Linked DNA regions of Homo sapiens: region 1 is linked to region 2. Evidence: promoter capture Hi-C in human tissues and cell types (Jung and others, 2019). All regions are on one chromosome and are shown on one strand. Each heading gives the region's core, a stretch centred on a gene start or on the middle of the fragment in contact. The rest is flanking DNA. Distances are from core to core; before and after follow the strand shown.

Region 1 (2,700 bases), core at 122-2,621, 150 kb before region 2:
TGACTCCCCACTTCCTACTGGAGGGCAGTGGCAACAACAGGGACTTCCATCTTGAATCCACAGAGGGAAGCCATATTGAGGATGGCAGAGCCTGGGGAGGTCTCAGGGCTCTTATGTGAAAAAGAAAAAGGAAACAGGTTGGGCATGGTGGCTCATACCTGTAATCCCAGAATTTTGGGAGGCCGAGGCAGGTGGATCACCTGAGGTCGGGGGTTCAAGACCAGCCTGACCAACATGGAGAAATCCCATCTCTAATAACAATACAAAAAATTAGCCAGGCGTGGTGGTGGGCACCTGTAATCCCAGCTACTTGGGAGACTCAGGCAGGAGAATCACTTGAACCCGGGAGGTGGTGGTTGCAGTGAGCTGAGATTGCACTCCAGCCTGGGCAACACAGGGAGACCCTGTCTTGCCTGTTTTTCGAAACTCCGTCTAGAAAAAAAAAATAATAAAGGAAACAAAACAAAACAAACTTCTCTCTTGTTTGAGGCACTGCATTTTACATCTTGGGGACCCTTTATGATGGCATGTAACTCTAAATAAACACTAGCCTTCAAGAACTTCTTTGATGCTTCCACAGGTTAACTATTTTTGTTCTACATTCTAATAGCATTCCTGTGCTTTTTTTCTTGTTAACATCCTGATCCATCACATGTATTCAAAGTGTGTTTTCCCTACCATACTAGGAAATCCACAAAGCCAGGAATGATGATGACAGCCTTGATGACAGCCTTGATGACAGCCTTGATGACAGCCATATCCTCCCTGTCCTCCACTGTGATTGGCTCAATGATAACTTCTAATTAAATGAATGAATGGTGCGCCGATGAATGAACACACTGGAACAACTTGGATATGATACCATGCATACTTTTTGCTGTAAGTAACAGTAACTTAAACAAATATCTTTCTCACATAACCAGGCATCTGGAAATAGGTGATTCTGTGAGAAACAGCTCAGTGATGTCAAAAGCTCTTTGGGAACTTTGATTTTTCTTGGCCTTCCCCTCATAGCTGCAAGAGGGCTGCAACAGCTCCAACAATCTTTTTATCTAACTGCACTCTCATCCCAGGAAAGGAGCAGGAAGGAAAATAAGTCTCCTTCTAGGCTTCTCTCTTTTGGTCAGGGAGGAAAGCCTTCCCCAGGATTCCCCCCAGCAGATGCCCCTCACATCTAATTGGCCAGAACTAGGTCACATGACCACCCCAGGCCACATGGGAAGCTGAGAAAGGGAACTTCTTCCTTCTTCAGGACCCAGTGGGAATAAACCAGTTCTAACAGCCCTTGCCCCTCCTTGCCCAGGTGGTCCCATTTGGGAAGCCCCAGGGACAATGGGGTATCACGATCTGGTCACAAATAAAAAGCCATGCCTTGTGCTTGATGCTTGCTGGAGGATATCACATTCTGTCTCTTGAAATTCTCTCCCTTGACACTGGCCCACCCAGCCTTTCCCTTGACTCTGCCCATAAGCTCACCTGTTTCAGTGCAATCAGTGATTGTTATCTCTGTGGTTACAGCGTCGCTACTATTTACTGAGCACCAGCCACGTGCCTGGTGACTGAACAAGTTGCATAACCTCTTTGTGCTTCCTTTTCCTCACCTGTAAAATTTGTACTACCTCATGGGATTGTTATGAGATTAAATTAGTTAATACAGACAAAGTGCTTACAACAGTACCTGACACAAAGGGCTAAATAAGCATTTGCTGTTGTGAATTGTTTATATCCTCATTTCACAGATGGAATAAATAACATGTCCAAGGTCACACAGTCGGGGGAACCAACAGTGAAAGCCTGGTTTCTCTGACTCTAGAGCCCACAGCCTTTCTTCTCTTGCTGCCAGGCCTTGCTGTGTCTGCAAGTTTCTCCTCAGTGTCTCAAAGGTGGGATGTCTTGCCACAGACACTATTTACTAATTCATTAATCCACCTCCTCCTGGAAGCCTTCCAGGGCACTTGCTCTCTGCCCCTTGCTGGCTCTGGGAAGGCCCTTCTGGAGAACATGAGAAGCTTCCTCTTGTCTCTTCTGGAGGGCTGGGAAATGTAGGTCCTGCCCGCTATTGTGGTCAGCTGCAAAGACACAACGTCATCCTCCAGAGATGCCCAGCCCTGATGAGGACACTGAAGTCCAGGAAAGGCACTCCCTCCAGGTCAGACAGCCAAGTACTAGGGGAGCCGCAACTGGATCTTAGGCCTCCAGGATGACTGCCCAGCACCCATTCCCTGCTCCGGGCTTCCTCCGTGTGAGCATTTTGCAGAGACAGCGACTCATCCAAAGGAGACCCTTACTCACAGTAGGGCCAAGAATGGGGCTTGCCTGGGAGATCCTGGCCTGAGCATTACAGGGGAGACCATGCCTTACTCATCCCTGACCCTCCACTCCCACTCTGGCTCCTACGTGGGCCCAGCCTCATCCCCTGCAGAGATATGCAGACTGTAGCCTAAGTGCAGGAGTGCCTGTAATACACAGATTATGACACTAGAGGCCAGGCGCGGTGGCTCAGGCCTGTAATCCCAGCACTTTGGGAGGCTGAGACGGGCGGATCACAAGGTCAGGAGATCAAGACCATCCTGGCTAACACGGTGAAACCCTGTCTCTACTAAAAATACAAAAAATTAGCCGGGCGTGGTGGCGGGCGCCTGTAGTCCCAGCTACCTGGGAGGCTGAGACAGGAGAATGGCGTGAACCTGGGAGGCAGAG
Region 2 (2,700 bases), core at 60-2,559:
ATTATGGGGTGGTGGCAGAGAGGAGGCCTAAAATGAGCGCACTTTGCAATGCCCACTTCGCGCGGGCAGCAGCAAGGGTTGCGTGCGTTGGCGCGGCTCGGAGGGCCGGGGAATGAACCCAGCCTGCCGCCCCCGTGGAGGCCTGGGCCGGCCAGGGGTCAGCCAGGGAGAAGCAGAAGGAACAAGTGCTTTTGAGGGCCGCCGCCGTCGGCCACCCTCTACGGCTCCCGGCTCCCTCCCTCTCCCTTACCCTTAGCACCCACAGCCCAGCGACAGACAGGTCCTTTCACAGAAAATCTGAGAAAGCCAGACTGCCTGGGCTCAAGCAGGCGGAAAAGGTGGCCCCCAGCAGCCCGGGTCGCTCCTCCAGCGACGCGGCGGGACTCAGGCTGCCAGCCTGGGAGACTGGGGAGTAGAGGGACCCCCAGTCCCCGGGGGAACCGCCTGGGCTGCCCAGCTCCCCGCAGTGCGGCGCCGGCGGCTCCAGCGCGTACAAGCTGTGGTCCGCTATGCGCAGCGTTTGAGTCAGCGCCCAGATGTAGTTGTGGGCGAAGCGCAGCGTCTCGATCTTGGTGAGCTTCGCGTCGTCTGGGAAGGTGGGCAGGACACCGCGCAGGGCGTCCAGTGCCGAGTTGAGGTTGTGCATTCGATTGCGCTCGCGGTCGTTGGCCTTCTTTCGCCGACTCCGTCGCTGCTTGCTCAGTGCCAACTCGCTCTTAGGCCGGCTGCGTCCCCCGCGCCGTGCCCGGAGCTTCCTCGGGGCCCCTCGGCAGCCTCCCTCTTCCGCCTCTGCGCAGTTCCCCCGTGTGCGAGTGGGGCTGGGCGGGGCGGACGTGGGGCAGGTCACTTCGTCTTCCGAGGCTCTGGGGAAGGACCGCTCCGTCTCACGGGTCACTTGGACAGTGGGCGCACCCGAGGGTTGAGGCGTCATCCTACGGCGGGGTCAGAGGGAAGGGTAAGTTTGAGTCCGTCACTGGGCGCAGTCCGCGATTCCGAGGCTAGGTGGGAAAAAACAAAAACAGCCATCCTCCCAGCCCCCGCTGGGTCAGAGGATCCCTCTTTCCCCTGCCCGTCCCTCGGAGGCCTCCAAATATTACCTTTCTACCGGCGCAAAAGAATAGAGAGCGATGAGCAGCGAGGGCCGTGGGGAGCTCAGCGGGCTTCTGGTCGCCAAGTTCAGCTGAGCTGCAGGCGCCCCCGCCTGGGAGTTGCCCCAGCCCCAAAGGAGAAAAGAAGAGAGAATGGGGTCCGAGGCCTCTGTCACGCTCTCTCTCGAGGCGCGGCGGTGAGACCGCAGGGATTTCCTGAGCAGCAAGTCGTGTGCCCCTTGGCACGCTTTATCTGCTTCGCCCGGGCCAGGAGCGTGCCTGCCCGGCTGCTGCCCGCGCCACCGGCCAATCAGCGCCGGGGCCCTGGGGCCGCGCCACGCGAGCCCGCTCCTCCCCCGCAGGGCACAGCTGGATTCCGGACAAAGGGCCGGGGTCGGGGGAGGGGAGCGCCGCTCTGTTTGCTCTCTCGAGGGCGGGCTGGGTCCCAGCAACTCTCGGTTCCTCAAAGAGCCTCGCCCAGTGAGAAGAGCCTCGTGTGGCTCTGGTCAGGCCACCTCAGACGGCTTTGCTCCTAGCCTATCTTTCCTTAGCATCTGTCCTGGAGGGGACTTTGATGCCTCTAGGGTACAATGCCTGCACGTTACACATGGGGAAATTTAGGCTTAGTGAGGGAGGTGGCTTGTCTGAAATCGCACAGGAAGATAGTGGCAAAGACAACCACGAGCTCATTGTCCTGACTAGCAGCCTGGAGAAGGGTCCAGGAATTCTAAAGGACGCCCTGCTCTCCTGGTGTTTCACTGCCTCTCTTCATCCTGGAAGACAGGGGACATCACTGAGAGAGATCCTGCCTATGTCCCTTCCATTCGCAGACCTTTTGGGGGTGTCCGAGCCTCTGCCACACCCTGAGATGCTACCTCACACTCCCCAGAGGCGCTTAGAACCCCACCCCCATAGATCCCACTCCAGAGGCAGGGGTTGGCTGTGCGGGGACCCCTCAAGCGGACATTCCATTACTACAAGCCTACTACAGCTTGTAGATAGTATCCCAGCGTTCTGGCCAGGAACCGTGACAGGAAGAGTTCTGGGAAGTGTGAGGAGGGGAGGAAGGAACCAGGAGTTCACAGTGAGCTCTTGCTTCTTTTTTTTTTTAAACGAACAAACAAAACCAAAAAACGGTCTCCTTCTGTCGCCCAGGCTGGACTGCAGTGGTGCAATCACAGCTCACTGCAGCCTTGATCTCCTGGGCTCAAGCTATCCTCCCACTTCAGCCTTCCCAGTAGCTGAGACTACAGGCATGCGCCACTGTGCCCGGCTAATTTATTTGTATTTTTATTTTGTATGGGGTGAGGGGCGGTCTTGCTTTGTTGCCCAGGATGGTCTCGAACTCCTGGGCTCAAGCGTTCCTTTCACTTCAGTCTCCCAAGGCGCTGGGAAGCAGAGCTGCTGTGCCCCTCCCCCTCGTGTCTTTTGAACTACCACAGCGTGCAGGCACTGGGAGAAGCTGATAAACTTTTTCTCCCCTTAGTCCTCCGGTCCAATCACAGACAGACAGCAGCTGCCAGCAGTCACCTGCTCCAGCCCCCTGCCTCTGCATCACTCGGGCATCGCACAGAGAGCACAAGGCAGGGACTTCCCCAGCCCCTTGGGTTGT

Evidence for each region. The method cuts DNA at HindIII sites, captures the fragments that hold promoters and counts their contacts. A contact is called where the count stands out against the background at its distance.
Region 1: a fragment that was not itself captured here is called in contact with the fragment with the promoter of NEUROG3 in region 2 in 2 of the 25 tissues and cell types used here (mesendoderm cells and pancreas).

Annotation. Positions count from the first base shown.
Region 1 is chr10:69,424,494-69,427,193 of GRCh38, forward strand. No RefSeq gene overlaps it. Among named protein-coding and RNA genes, the nearest start is that of TACR2, 8.9 kb to the left of the region's middle. The HindIII fragment of the contact is 7,667 bases long and covers 1-2,700 here.
Region 2 is chr10:69,572,113-69,574,812 of GRCh38, forward strand. NEUROG3 (neurogenin 3) reads right to left here and starts at 1,310. Exons shown (of 2, transcript NM_020999.4): 1 at 1,098-1,310; 2 at 1-932. The coding sequence starts at 931. The coding sequence ends at 287. LOC101929021 (a long non-coding RNA gene) reads left to right here and starts at 845. Exons shown (of 4, transcript XR_946037.2): 1 at 845-955. RefSeq lists an enhancer at 1-103 and a silencer at 1,361-1,580. The HindIII fragment of the contact is 13,443 bases long and covers 1-2,700 here.